Regions from separate parts of the Homo sapiens genome. Here region 2 is linked to region 1. Evidence: promoter capture Hi-C in human tissues and cell types (Jung and others, 2019). All regions are on one chromosome and are shown on one strand. The core of a region is centred on a gene start or on the middle of the fragment in contact, and the rest is flanking DNA. Distances in the headings are between cores, read along the strand shown.

The links. Contacts are between HindIII fragments. The study calls those that stand out against the background at their distance.
Region 2: a contact is called between a fragment that was not itself captured here and the fragment with the promoter of MTIF2 in region 1, in 4 of the 25 tissues and cell types used here (adrenal gland, dorsolateral prefrontal cortex, hippocampus and 1 more).

The regions. Positions count from the first base shown.
Region 1 is chr2:55,264,614-55,272,279 of GRCh38, reverse strand. MTIF2 (mitochondrial translational initiation factor 2) reads left to right here and starts at 3,049. Exons shown (of 16, transcript NM_002453.3): 1 at 3,049-3,111; 2 at 3,541-3,702; 3 at 4,645-4,711. RefSeq lists enhancers at 2,188-3,011, 2,957-3,106. The HindIII fragment of the contact is 5,929 bases long and covers 1-4,075 here.
Region 2 is chr2:55,362,806-55,370,471 of GRCh38, reverse strand. CCDC88A (coiled-coil domain containing 88A) reads left to right here. Exons shown (of 33, transcript NM_001365480.1): 6 at 6,439-6,522. Among named protein-coding and RNA genes, the nearest start is that of CCDC88A, 53 kb to the left of the region's middle. The HindIII fragment of the contact is 6,438 bases long and covers 783-7,220 here.

The sequences.
Region 1 (7,666 bases), core at 1,800-4,299:
CCTGTTAGGTTCAGTTAAAAAAAATTTCCAGGCCTAGCGCACTGGCTCACACCTGGAATCATAGCACTTTGGGAGGCTGAGGCGGGCAGATCACTTCAGGTCAGGAGTTCAAAACCGGCCAGGCCAATTGTACTAAAAATACAAAAAAAATTAGCCGGGCATGGAGGCAGACACCTGTAATCCCAGCTACTCTGGAAGCTGAGGCAGGAGAATCGCTTGAACCTGCGAGGCGGAGGTTGCAGTGGGCTGAGATCGTGCCATTGCACTCCAGCCTGGGTGACAGAGTGAGACTCCATCTCAAAAAAAAAAAAATGTCCAGGAGAGGAGTTTGCATTAAATCATTCAGTAACACCGATTACACACCTTTGTAGTAGGCATTGGGAAAGTGGGGAAAAAAAAGAGGTTGGTAGGTTGGGATGGGGGCATGAGTTAGGAGGTAAGATGATGGTGTAGCAGGATGAGCCGCAGACAAAACCTCTCAGACACCGAGTTGTAGAAGGAAGGGCTTTATTCAGCTGGGAGCATTGGCAAGCCACTGCCTTAAAATCCGAGCTCCCTGAGTGCACAATTTCTGTCCCTTTTAAGGGTTCACAACACTAAAGATTTCACATGAAAGTGTCGTGATTGATTTGAGCAAGCAAGGGGTACGTGACAGGGGCTGCATGCACCGGTGGTCAGAGACAAACAGAACAGGGCAGGGAGTTTCACAATGTTCTATACAATGTCTGGAATCTATGAATAACATCGGTTTCTAGGTTATGAGTTGATTTTTATTTTATTTATTTATTTATTTATTTATTTATTTATTTATTTATTTTGAGACGGAGTCTCGCTCTGTCACCCAGGCTGGAGTGCAGTGGCGCCATCTCGGCTCACTGCAAGCTCCGCCTCCCAGGTTCACGCCATTCTCCTGCCTCAACGTCCCAAGTAGCTGGGACTACAGGCACCCGCCACCACACCCGGCTAATTTTTTTTAATATATATTTAGTAGAGACGGGGTTTCACCGTGTTAGCCAGGGTGGTCTCGATCTCCTGACTTCGTGATCCACCCGCCTCGGCCTCCCAAAGCGCTGGGATTACAGGCGTGAGCCACTGCGCCCAGCCTGAGTTGATTTTTAACTACTGGGTTTAGGCCAGGCAGAGCCAGGCCTGGTTTTGGGCCTGGCGCCGGACTGCCTGTCTTTGATTTCACTTCTTTTTTCTCTCTTAAAACAGGTACTGAGTATAAAACAATATAAAACAATATGAGAGGGTCTCTCTCTTCCCTCAATGGCAAGTATGCTTTTGAGTAATGAACTTCTGTACCATACCAATTACCCAGGGGAGTGGTAGATCTTAAAGACAAAGATTAATTGATTGATTTTGTTTTCTTCTCAAATTCCTTTTACCAAAAGACAGAGATAATAAAACAATATTTATATTTGAGAGGTGGTGATGGTTGTGGTCAAAACGACCAGCTGAAAGTCATAATGTCCAAGCAAGATGAGGGAAAGCTCTGGGGGCAGGCAGTAATAACCATAACAGCAAACACATACTATGAACCAGGCACTACTTATCAACAGTTTATCAACCCATTAAAAGCTTATTGCAGCCGGGCGTGGTGGCTCATGCCTGTAATCCCAGCACTTTGGGAGGCTTAGGTGGGCAGTCACCTGAGGTCAGGAGTTCGAGACCAGCTTGGCCAACATGGTGAATTAGTGAGGCATGGTGATGTGCCCCTGTAATCTCAGCTACGCGGGAGGCTGAGGCGGGAGAATCACTTGAACCCAGGAAGCGGAGTTTGGTTGCAATGAGCCGAGATCGCGCCATTGTGCTCCAGCTTGGGCGACAGAGTGACACTGTCTCAAAAAAAACAAAAAACAGTCTGGGAGAGGTGGCTAACGCCTGTCATCCCAGCACTTTGGGAGGCCGATGTGGGCGGATCATCTGAAATAGGGAATTCGAGACCAGCCTGACCAACATGGAAAAACCCTGTCTCTACAAGAAACACAAAATTAGCCAGGAGTGGTGGCACATGCCTGTAATCCCAGCTACTCGGGAGGCTGAGGCAGGAGAATCGCTTGAACCCGGGAGGCAGAGGTTGCGGTGAGCTGAGATCGTGCCATTGCACTCCGGCCTGGGCAACAAGAGCGAAACTCCATCTCAAAAACAAATAGAAACAAAAACACAACAAAAACCTTATTACAATCCTGTGAACTAGCTACTGTCATTACTATAATGTAGATGAACAAACTGGGACATGGACAGTTGACAAAACATTCCCAACCACACACTAGGAATGAGCTGGGATAGGAAACCAGGCACTCTGGCTCTATTACTCCTAATGCCATACACACGAGCTGACTTAGGAGAAAACAGAAAGTACTGTTCGCACAATACTAACTGGTTCTACCGCCACTGTTCGCTTGCATTTGTTTTTTCCTTCTTGTTAGGAACACGTATCTTTGAAGGAGGTATCATTTCTCCCACAATTCTCCATTTAACGTTTCCTACAGTGTTAAGCACCACCGAGGCCTCTCATAGCCCCAGAGAAGAAGTAATTTGCTTCCTAGAAATCCTCACTGTATCCAGATTCCCTCCCAGAGGAGCCATCAGTTCTCATGGGTGGCACTTTTTCTCCAGCTGATTACACTTTTTTTCTGTACCAGTTAATTTTTCCAACTTCTAATTGAATAAAGGCAGTTTTCTTAAAAAAAAAAAAAAGAGAAAGAAAAACGGAAAGGAAGGAAGAGGAAAGGAAGGAAGAAATGAAGAAAGGAAGGAAGGAAAGAAAGGAGAGGGACAGAAAGAAAAAAAGGAAAGAGAGAAAGAAAGGAAAGGAAAGTAAGAAATGGAAGGGACCTGCAGAAACGATTCACCACGCGCGGCTGACCCTGGGAGGAGCCACAGGTTGAACCAGCGCCTCCCAGGCTGGACGCCCGCCGCGGACACCGCAGACAGTCCCACCCCCAGCGGCGACAGCAACTCTCTGAATTCCGGAAAGAACCTTTTCCAGCGGGACCGGAAGCCCGGCGGGGACCGTAGCGGGGACGGACTGACCTACCGACCATTCTTCCGGGTCCAGAAGGTGATCTCCGCCCGTGCTCAGAATCCAGGGGCCCGGGGCTGTAGGTAGGAGTTAAGTGGGTAGGATCCCTTAACCAGGGTTGTCCGGTGCAGGTGGTGTGTGTTGTTTCGCCTAACGTGTCAGTGGCACAAATCACGCGAACTTCATAAACATTGTGCGTTCGGAAGCCTTTCCAAGATGCATTTAATCCCTGCGTGAGCCCACGTTAGGCATTCACGAAGGCATGTGCACTGTTCTCTCGGAAGCGGCTGGCCGGCTTCCCCTCCTCGCGCGCGGCTGTGGGTGCAGGTCCTCACTTCCCAGCCTCCCATGGGCCCAAGGCCTTCTGGGCTCCAATTTGAGGCGAGCCACCCCAGATCCGTAATTTTTCTGCAGTGATTTATTTTTACCTTTCTGGTAAGTTCCAAAGCTTCCAGCTCACATTCAGACGTTTTCCCTAACGCAACTACGTATTTGCAACATACTTTTTTCAGATTCCTTGACAAGGATATCCTAGCGGCGAAACAACACCGTACTGGGAGTCAGAACGTCTGGGTTCTAGTCTTGACTGCCATTAACTAGCGGTATGACATTGGAGAAGCTTTTTTGACCCTTCTGGATTTCCGTTTCCTTTTCTGTAAAATGAGGAGCTTGGAGTAAGTGACAAGTTTCCTTCCAGTTTTGACATTTGGGTTATTGCCTCCAATGTGTCTTTCCAGTTCCTGCCTCAATTACATATCTGTGCTTTGGTTAATATCTCGTAGGGTCCTTCCTCCCACTCCATTAATCTGTGCTCTTCTCAAATCTGGTTTCATACTGATTTAAAAATTATTTTCTCAAGGAATCCTGTGTTACCTGAGCACTCTACTTCTTGGTCCAGGGGCACAAACGTAAATAAGATATTTTCCATGTGCCATTCTTAGAAGTATTTAATGTGTGTAAATACTATTGAATGAATTTCCAAATCTTCTTTTTTTTTTCTTTAGACAGAGTCTCACTGTCGCCCAGGCTGGAGTGCAGTGGCCTGATCTCGGCTCACTGCAGTCTCTGCCTCCTGGGTTCAAGCGATTCTCCTGCCTCAGCCTCCCAAGTCGCTGGGATTACAGGCGCCCGCCACCGTACCCGGCTAATTTTTGTACTTTTAGTAGAGAGGGGGTTTCACCATGTTGGCCAGGCTGGTCTCGAACTCCTGACCTCAGGTGATCCGCCCGCCTCGACCTCCCAAAGTGCTAGGATTACAGGCATGAGCCATCACGCCCAGCCTGAATTTCTAAATCTTAATGTGTTTATTTCGTTGGCATTAAGTTAGATTTTTCCTTGATCTTTACTCGAATAAGCCTTTTAAGGTAAAATGCTTGCTCGATTACACACACATACACAACCTCATAATTGTCCGAAGGTAAACAAGTTAATGACTTGTGAATATTTTTAACTTATAAGCAATGAATCCTCAAAGCTTATAAGCGAGTATCAAGACATGTGATATGGTTTTAAAATAGCTGATGATAAAGTATATACATCATCTCATTTTCTCCTCTTAGTCTTGTAATAGGAAGGACAGATATTCAAACACTTATTTATTTATTTATTTTTAACAGAGATCCGGAAAATGAGGCCCATAGGAAACAAGTGACTTGCTGAGTCCAGATAACACTGACTGTCAGAGTGAGTGTCCACCTAAGGTTCCTTTGTTGCCTAATAAGATACTTTCTTTGCTATACTGTACTTGTTTCTGTTATCATTTCTTTTCTTTCTTTTAAAAAATATTCAGTATAGGCCAGGCGCGGTGGCTCACGCCTGTAATCCCAGCACTTTGGGAGGCCAAGGCGGATAGATCACCTGAGGTCAGGAGTTCAAGACCAGCCTGGCCAACACGGTGAAACCCCGTCTCTACTAAAAATACAAAATAATTAGCCGGGTGTGCTGGCAGGCACCTGTAATCCCAGCGACTTGGGAGGCTGAGGCAGGAGAATCCCCTGAACCCAGCAGGTGGAGGTTGTAGTGAGCCAAGATCACGCCATTGCACTCCAGCCTGAGCGATGAGCAAAACTCCATCTCAAAAAAAAAAATTCAGTATATTCTATTTACCATGTCAGAACCATACATTTACTATGTCAGAACCATAAAATACACTTTGGGAAGATTGGTTGAAATGTAACATTTAGGCTAGGCGTGGTGGCTCACGCCTGTAATCCCAGCACTTTGGGAGGCTGAGACAGGTGGATCACCTGAGGTCAGGAGTTTGAGACTAGCCTGGCCAACATGGTAAAACCCGGTGTCTACTAAAAATACAAAAATTAGCCTGACACGGTGGCACACACCTGTAGTTCAAGCTACTTGGGAGGCTAAGGCTGGAGAAAATTGCTTGAACCCAGGAGGCAGAGGTTGCAGTGGGCTGAGATCACACCACTGAACTCCACCCTGGGCAACAGAGCGAGACTCCATCTGAAAAAAAAAAAAAAAAAAAAAAGAATGAAATGTAGCATTTAATGCCTAGTTATCTAGCAAAGATCACCCGTCCAGAGCCTTAATTTCTTTGGTCACATCAAATAACTATTATCATTTGTGAACAATTTTAAAGACTATCTAGTAGAAAATATAAATATATTTATATAATATATATGTTGTATATAAATATAAAATATAAGCATATTGTAGAAATGCCATATTATGAGATAAATCATTAAAAAAAAATTTTTTTTTTTTTTGAGACAGAGTCTCGCTCTGTCTCCCCGGCTGGAGTGCAGTGGCGTGATCTTGGCTCACTGCAACCTCTGTCTCCCGGGTTCAAGAAATTCTCCTGCCTCAGCCTCCCAAGTAGCTGGGACTACAGGCATGTGCCACCACGCCCAGGTAATTTTTTTGTATTTTTAATAGAGACGGGGTTTCACCATGTCGGTCAGGCTGGCGTCGAACTCCTGACCTCAAATGATCTGCCTGCCTTGGCCTCCCACAGTGCTGAGATTACAGGCATGAGCCACTGCGCCTGGCCAAAAATTTTAAGGCTTTGTAAAAGTTTATAATTTTGTTCAAGATAGCTTTATATGGTTAAGGTAAACGCATTGAAATAGTTCATAATTTCCATTCTTTTTTTTTTGTAATGCTGAAGAATATATGTGTCTCTCAGTATCTATGGGGCATTGGTTCCAGGACCCCCGCTGCCGCATGCCAAAATTTACAGATGTCCAAGTTCCTTATATAAAATGGCGTATATTTACATGTAACCTAAGCACATACCATTGTATACTTCATGTCATCTCTAGATTACTTATGATACCTAATACAAAGCAAATACTATGTAAACAGTATACTTTAGGGAATAATGACAAGGAAAAAGGTGTACATATTCAGTAGAGACAGAACCATCTTTTTAAAAAATTAAAAAAATTTTCGATCCACAATTGTTTGAATCCACAAATGTGGAACACATGGATACAAAGGGCTGATTAGTAATGTTTAATGATATAAAATAATATTCACAATGTATTCTTTAGTGTAAAAAGTTGTAAAACAAAATTAATATGACCTTATTTTTGTGAGTAAAATAGATAAAAGCACAAAGAAAAGAGTTGAAAATATATATATTAAAATGTTAACTAAAGTTATTTTTGAGTAGTGAGTAAAAGAAAATCTATACTGAAGAGTCTAAAAGGCTATACCCACTACTTGGAAATGTACTCTCCATTGAAAAGCAAACAGACAAACAAAAAAAACCTTAAAATGACTTTACAATTTATAGAAATAATTTTGCATATTATTGCAATGAAAACACGACCCTAGGTTATAATCAGTCATCATAGGTAGTGTCTCGTGTGCCTGAGATTCATTGTATTGGCAAGCTTGCTTTAACGACAATGAACTGTTTGTGGAATGGAACCTGGCTTATTAAACTTTGAATCAACAATATCAAGCAGAAAGCCTGGCATATGGTACTTAGGAAATGTTTCCTAAGAAGAAAACATGTTCTTCTTCATTTTTTTTTTTTTTTTCAAGACAGAGTTTTGTTCTTGTCGTCCAGGCTAGAGTGCAATGGCATGATCTCGGCTCACTGCAACCTCGACCTCCCGGGTTCAAGTGATTCTCCTGCCTCAGCCTTCTGGGTAGCTGGGATTGCAGGCGCCCGCCACCATGTCCGGCTGATTTTTGTATTTTTAGTAGAGACAGGGTTTCACGACGTTGGCCAGGCTAGTCTCGAACTCCTGACCTGAGGTGATCCGCCCACCTCGGCCTCCCAAAGTGCTGGGATTACAGGCATGAGCCACCACACCCAGCTGGAAAACATGTTCTTTTTACGTTGTTTTTGTCGTTCCTGTCCTTAAAAACTGAAAAGCAAAGCCATAGAAATGCAGTCTTGAGAGCAGAGGCAATAGAGGCCACGGGGAGGAAAAGAACTATATTACTAATGAGTTCTGTTACAGTTTTTTCTCAAAAAAACTCTTCTTTTATTCTAAGAATAATACTCAAAAGGCATTATTCAATAAATATTGGGTGTCTTCTTCCTACTATAAAGCATCTTTTTTTAGGGGGTGAGATGGGAAGATGGAAAAGTGTTAAGAGTTCAAAGACGATTCCAACTAGAGGAAGTGTGTGCAAAGTTTCAGAGCTGAGATGAGAAACCAT
Region 2 (7,666 bases), core at 2,752-5,251, 97 kb before region 1:
CAGGGTTTCACCATGTTGGCCAGGCTAGTCTCAAAACCCTGACCTCAGGTGATCTGCCCGCCTCGGCCTTCCAACGTGCTGGGATTACAGGCTTGAGTCATCATGCCCGGCCTAATTTTTTTCATATGAAGAGAGAATAGGTTTTATCAACTGTAGAAAACAAAGCAAAGGCTCAAGGAGACCATCATTCTAACCTATGTTAACATCATTCAAGGTTTTTTAGAAATGAGGAGATGGAAAGGGTGTCAGACCTTGGTTTTTGATATGATATCAGCTTGTCAAGAAACTTAAAGACCCATCTTTATATATATTTTATGTCCATGTAGTCATAGCAGAATTATGCTTTTACTTGAGAGCCCTTAAGACTTGCATCTATTGTGGTGCCAGAATGATGTATCTACCAAGAAAAGAGGAAGGATCCAATTTTGAAAAATGTTATCATTCTGCATTTCAAAAATGTTAGTGACCTAATTTTTTTCTTTTAATGTTTATGGGTGCTATAGTAAAGGACAGGGACAAGGATTTTAGAAAAAAGACGTAAAGCTCAAGGAGTTTGAATTTTAGAGAAGACAAGAGTAAACAGTACGAGTTTGAGGTGATAATTACCGTAATGTAATATACATTGGTGCATTGAAGAAGTATTTTCTTAAGTTTACTGGTAGTATTAGGAAAGCCCTCTGACAAGGTAATATTTGAAATGAGAGCAAAGATGTTGAGAAAACACCCTATTCAAGGAACATGAAGTGTGGTTGGGCCAGGGGTGGTGGTGGGTGGATCATTTGAGGTGAGGCGTTCAAGACCAGTCTGGCTACATGGTAAAACGTTGTCTCTGCCAAAAGAAAAATACAAAAAAATAGCTGGGCATAGTGGCTTGCGCTTGTAGTCCCAGCTACGCAGGAGGCTGAGACAGGAGAACGGTTTGAACCTGGGAGATGGAGGTTGCAGTGAGCTGAGATGGCTCCACTGCACTCTAGCCTGGGCGACAGAGCAAGACTTCATCTCAAAAAAAAAAAAAAAAAAAAGTGTGGTTGAAACGTAGGATTCATGGGGATGAGTGGCAAGGTATTAGACTGGAGAGTTTACATGAATTGAGTTATGAAGGACTGGATTTGCCACTTTAAGATAGAGTTCAGATTTCAGGCCAGACATGGTGGCTCACACCTGTAATCTCAGCACTTGGGAGGCCGGAACAGTGGATCACCTGAGGTCAGGAGTTCCAGACCAGCCTGGCTGACATAGTGAAACCCTGTCTCTACTAAAAATACAAAAATTAGCCGGGTGTGGTAGTGGGCATCTGTAATCCCAGCTACTCGGGAAGTTGAGGCAGGAGAATTGCTGGAACCCAGGAGGCGGAGGTTGCAGTGAGCCAAGATTGTGCCACTGCACTCCAGCCTGGGTGACAGAGCAAGACTCCATCTCAAAAAAAAGAAAAAAATTATTCTGTGGGTGTTTTGGAGCCACTACTACTAATAATATAAAATGTGTGACCAAAATCTGTCAGCCTTCAGCTGTGACCATATAAACAATTAGAAGTCTTTGTTGATACTTAATAGCCAGAATGTGTTTCTGGACAAGAAGCTATTGAGGAAACCAATCAGCCAACAAGTATTGTTGGAATATTTTGTAAAATGTCCTCTCTATTTCAGAAAATTTGTTCATCTTATAGTTGAACAGATTAAAATTCTAATATGTAAATAGCATGTTTTCCCACATCTAGGTCAATCAATTTTATCTGTTATAATTGTTATTTGTAGATAGAAATAGCAAGATACAATTTGCTGATACTAAAGTTTAGGAAATCAGTGGACCACAGGTTTCAAGAGATACTATATTCATGAAAAGAAATAGGGCTGGGTGCAGTGGGTCATGCCTGTAATCTCAGCACTATGGGAGGTTGAGGCAGGAGGATTGCTTGAGGCCAGGAGTTTGAGATCAACCTGGGCAGCATAAGGAAACTCTATTTATACAAAAAAAAATTTTTTTTTAATTAAAGAGGGAGAAAGAGAGAGAGAGGGAGGGGGGAAAGAGAGAGAGAAACAAGCATTGGGAAATTGAAAAATGTTTTCTTCTTTTGAAGAAAAAAAATGAAATTCTTAAGAGGAAGCAGCATTCAAAAACAGTAAAGTTAACCATTATCCAAAGATCTTACCTGACAAAATAAATTATGACTTTTAATCCTTGATTATATGTAAGTAAAAGCCACATAAATAACTTTAAATATGAAGAAAACCATCCAAGGCCAGGGCTTGGGTATTTTTGTTATTGGCTGTCCAACTCAGTCAAGTTCCTCCAGAATCTTTTTCAATGGGCAACCCAAGTCTTCTGAACCAGTTCTGAGCATCACCTAGAATTTTCACACATCTGTGACTCTTCATCCTAGCCCTGAAGTAGTTAGAGAGTCCTAGGTGAAACCATCCTATGCAGAAGAAAAAGTTTTGCAGTGTTTTGTTTGGAAATTTCTTTGTTCTAAGACTATGTGAAATTCATCTCTTTTTAGCAGAACTTAAAACCTACATAATACCTATCAGTGCAGGCTGCTTAGTATCCAGAAATATTACTTATTTTGGACTTTGGCCAGGTTGGGTAGTGCTGAAAGTAACTGAGTGTCAAGTGTGGTTGGAATTAAAATTTTGACCCTTTTATGTACCCTTAGAAGGAATCTACCGTTAGTATTTGATTCTGAAAACCAGTTTTGAACTTGGTTAGTTTGATGGCTACAATCTATTGTTTACTTATCAATGATCTGTAAAGCATCTTAAAGGTTAACATTTTAGAAATAAAACAAGTTTCTGCTTGGTTCAATGATGCGCCTTTAGTCTCAGCTACTTGGGAGGATCACTTGAGGCCAGGAGTTCAAGGCAGCCATATGGTATGATCATGCCTGTGAATAACCACTGTGTTCCAGCCTGGTAACGTAGCAAGACCCAGTCTCTTAAAAAAAAACAAGGAAATAAAACAATTTCTAGCAAGGCATTTGTTTTTCTGAGAATATTTAAAAATACAAATATAGCTCAAAGAGGGAGACTTTTGTTGATACAAGTATTGTTTTCAAATACATAATAGGAAATTTACCATTTTAACAATTTTTTAAGTATATAGTTCAGTGGTATTCTGATTGCTGTACATTCACATTGTTGTGTAACCATTACCACCATCCATCTGAAGAATTTTTCTCATCTTCTGAAGCTAAAACTCTGTACCCATTAAATGATGACTCCCTTTGTTACCAGACCTCGGTAACCACCATTTTACTTTATGTCTCTATGAATTCGATTGTTCTAGGTACCTCATATAAATGGAATCATACAGTATTTGTCCTTTTGATGGGCTTATTTCACTTAGCGTAATGTCTTTAAGGTTTTTTCATGCTATAGCATGTGTCAGTTTCCTTCCTTATTAAGGCTGAATAATATTCCATTATTTATATATGCCAAATTTTGTTCATCCATTCATCATTGATGAACACTTGAGTTGCCTCCATTTTTTGGCCCTTGTAAACAATGTTGCTATGAACATGAGTGTACAAATGTCTGTTTGAATCCCTGCTTATTGCTCTTTGGTAGAACTATGATTTGTTTAGACCTATATTATCGGTTTTCTTATTTAAAACACTATAATGTGTTCCTTGTCTTATTATTTTCTTGTTCAATAGCTTGTTTTGGGTGCCATTTCCTCTATTTTAGTATAGCTTTTCCATATAAACCTGTCTTCTTTCTTTAAGATCATAGAGCAGGTATTGAAAATATGAGGAATTTGAGGAATAAAGTATTAAGGGCTTAAGATCTCTGGTAGAAGATGTACAACTTTAGGGTTTATGCATATCTCTCCCACCCACCTCCCACCCTAATCACTTTTTTTGCTTTTTTCCTATGTCCAAGTTTCCACATCATATCTTGTGTGTGTGTGTGTGTGTGTGTGTGTGTGTGTGTGTGTGTGTATGTGTGTGTGACAGAGTCTTGCTCTGTTGCCTAGGCTGGAGTGTAGTGGCGCAATCTTGGCTCACTACAACCTCCGCCTCCTGGGTTCAAGCAATTCTTCTGCCTTAGCCTCCCAAGTAGCTGGGATTACAGGCGCCTGCCACCATGCCTGGCTAATTTTTTGTATTTTTAATAGAGACAGGGTGTCACCATGTTGGCCAGGCTGGTCTTGAACTCCTGACCTCAGGTGATCCAGCTGCCTCAGCCTCCCAAAGTGTTGGGATTACAGGCTTGAGCCATCACGCCTGGCCTCCATGTCGTATTCTTAGAATATCATGGTAATCTACTGGCTTAGTAATCAGTTACTATAATACAATAGAGTTAAAAAATTAATTTTAGTGCCCATGATAGTTTAAGAACTTTACATAAAGATAAGAGAGCTTAATTTTAATTGGAAAAAACAATTTGCTGATATTATTTAGTCTTCACAGCTGGTATTAAGCTATATATCTGTTTTTAACACCAGACTTTCTCATGCTCTGGAGCTGGCCTATTCAATACAGTAGCCACTAGCCGCATGTGGCTATTTAAATTAAAATTAATTACAATTAAATTAAAATTTCAGTTTCCCAGTTGCACTAGCTACATTTCAGGTACTCAGTAGCTGCATATAGCTAATGATCACCGTATTGGGCAGCTCTCATATAGAAATTTGATCTGATTATTCAGCTTCAAAGTGTGAATATTTTATTCTTTTTTCCATCTTGACAGTCTTTCTCTTTTTTAGCCTTCAAAAGCCTATGAAATTTATTCTGTATCCTTAGGGAAGCCCAACCTGTTTATAAAACATTTTGAGAATGCTTAGCTTCTAAGAGTTAAATTAAGGTGTGAGATTTAGTAGAAATCGTGTGTGTTACAAGAGTAAAGGGAAAATTTTCATTGATTTGTGTTGAGATTGTGCTAAAGGACGAGCTCCTAAAGATAGTACAAGTAAAAAACAAGTGGCTCTGGCTTAGAAAAGGGAAGTATATCTATTTAGTCTAAACTGAAGGCAGAGAAAGATACGGCAGTTGAATTAAGGAACTCTTTGGTGAGTCATAGTCATTACCTTTGATAATAATTATGCTGTTTTGTGTTCTGATAGGTTCAGAAACTGTGTAGGTCAACAATTTTGGTAGTGTTAAATTTTAAAATTGATGTTACTATACCTGAAAAGTTAATTATGTTATATATGCTATGAATTTATGATTAGAACGTAATTCTTAATTGTTCTTACAAGGCCTGTCAAGTATTATTTGCTAGAAAAAAATTCTTGAGTTTAAACCCACTAAGTTTTATTCCATCCACCCAAAACTCTGACTTCCTAATCACAGCTAGGAATTATACATTTCTGGTAATTTAGTTTTAACCATTTTATTATCCTAATAATTCTGTGTTTACAAGATATAGAACTTTCTGCATTGATGGAAGTGTATTTAAATTGTATAGTAGTAGAAAATATAGCATTACAGTTTGATAAAATAAACACGTAAAGCATAAATCAGAGCCTTATAAGTTTCATGATCAAAGAGCTAGTTTGTAATTTTGTGACTATATTGTCCTCACTAGTAGTTCAGTAATTGGCCCAGGAGATGCATCTAAGTTAGACAAGGCAGTGCTGTCTATTTTGTAGGCACTTTGCATTTGTTAGCTGTAAGAATACAGTGATACTAGCAGTTGGTTTGCAGCATTAGAGATGTAGGTGAAGGTGGAGATTAAAATGCATGTTAAATTGTTAATGCTGACTGGAAGGAAAAGATTGTTTTGCATTTTAATATTTTTAATTTATATAAAGCTTTTTAAAAGTTACACAATAAAGAATTACCCCCTTTATTCCATTTGGTTACGTGTGTACTCATGTATATATTTTTTAAGTTTGCCTCTGGTAACTTTGCTCTGTTAGAAACAAATCAAATATTTATTAGATTATGTTATAAATGTTGAACTGGGCCACAAAAGTGGGTTTCTTTTATTAAGCTTGATAGGATGAAGATGTGAGAATGAATTGTAAGCTTGAAGTAAAAATTGCTTAAATTTTTTTTCCAAGAAGAAAGGCTGTGTTGTTTGGTAATAGTCAGGGACTGACTGAGCATTTTGGCTGTATTCCGAATTCTGCCACTGACTCACTGTGTTTTTTGGCAAGTAACTTATCCTCACTGAAACAAGTTCTTGATTCTTTACTTCTCTGTGTGTAAAGTTAGCATAATAATATTGTGCTAACCTCAGATGGGTTGTGTAATGGTTTCCCACTTTAGAACTTTCCAGCATAAAAATAGTATGGATTTTCAGTGCCTTGCTTTTTAAAATAATTATTTCTAAATTGTTGTTTATTAGGTAAGTATGTTGGACAATTTAAATGCAAAACAAAACTCTTACTATACTTTTCAAAATATAGCAAACCTCATAAAGTTTTAGTTATATATAACATTTTAAGGACCATACCCTATAAAGTATGAATAACTATTTTATTCATTTATTTTAGTGTCAGAAAAAAGAGGAATTTATTGAAAGAATTCAAGGTTTAGATTTTGATACAAAAGCAGCGGTTGCCGCACATATTCAAGAGGTAATGACATATATACAATTTTACGTGCTATTTATGAAGCTTGTGGTGTGTTTATTTGTCTATCTCCTAAAATACTTCAAAGTCATAGAATAAGCAAGAACAAATCAACAAATATAGATGGACCCTGCTTTTATACAAATTGTCTTCTCTTTAGAGATAGTTTCTTACACTTGGCACACTGTTAACTACAAATATACTCTTGCCTTTATTCTATAGTGACATAGGCAGAAAGTGTTATTTGAGGAATGAGGTATATGTCTTTGTTAGAATGGATTACAAAGCAGTAAATGGAAACAGCAGAAAGTGGAACACTGCTTGTAATTCAAAACGATAGTGAGGTAAGATGACAAGCTTAGTATTATTCCATTGATTTTCTTTTGAAAGAATAGATGCATAATTTTTATTAAAGATATTACTTGAATTATAAACACATTAATGATTTGTAGCATTCATATAAAAACTTAAGTCTAGGGCATATTGTGCAGTGTCAAATAATTGAAATTAAAATTTGTTAAGATTCATTTTAAAAGCTGCTGTTTCTATGTCTGTCTATTCTTGGGCTTTTAATCTTATAAAGACACTTTAGAATTAGTATGTTAAATTTTACATGTTGATTAGAAAAGGGAAAAGAAAATTTTTTATAGTGAAAATTGGTAGTATTTAAAATATTCTTTGTTCAAAAGACTTTTGTGTTCCATAGGACATCTTTTCTCTTATTTAGCATTTGTAAAGCCCAGATTTCTTATCAGTAACATTATTATCAACAATAAGCATATTAGTACTTTACAAGATGTAGTTTTATAGGTAGTCTCCCATTATAGAGACATACTTGCTTTATGCTAGTTATATGGATTTGTTTTATTCTGAATAAATGCTAAGTATTGCAAGTTACTGAATTTGCCACCATCCTTGGAAGTGTAATTATTTTTGCTGTTTGTTATGAAAGTTAAAGCAAGTTATTAGAATTACACTGAGAAATGGAAGGCACTTATATAACTTTTCCATTCTTTTCAAGATCTTTATATTGGTAATCCTTTCTCCTAAGCTTCTGTGACAGTGTCATCTTCAGAATCTATAAAGACCTAGATATTCAGTAACAACAATGCAATAACATATATCCTACAAGATTAAAAACCTTTTGCTC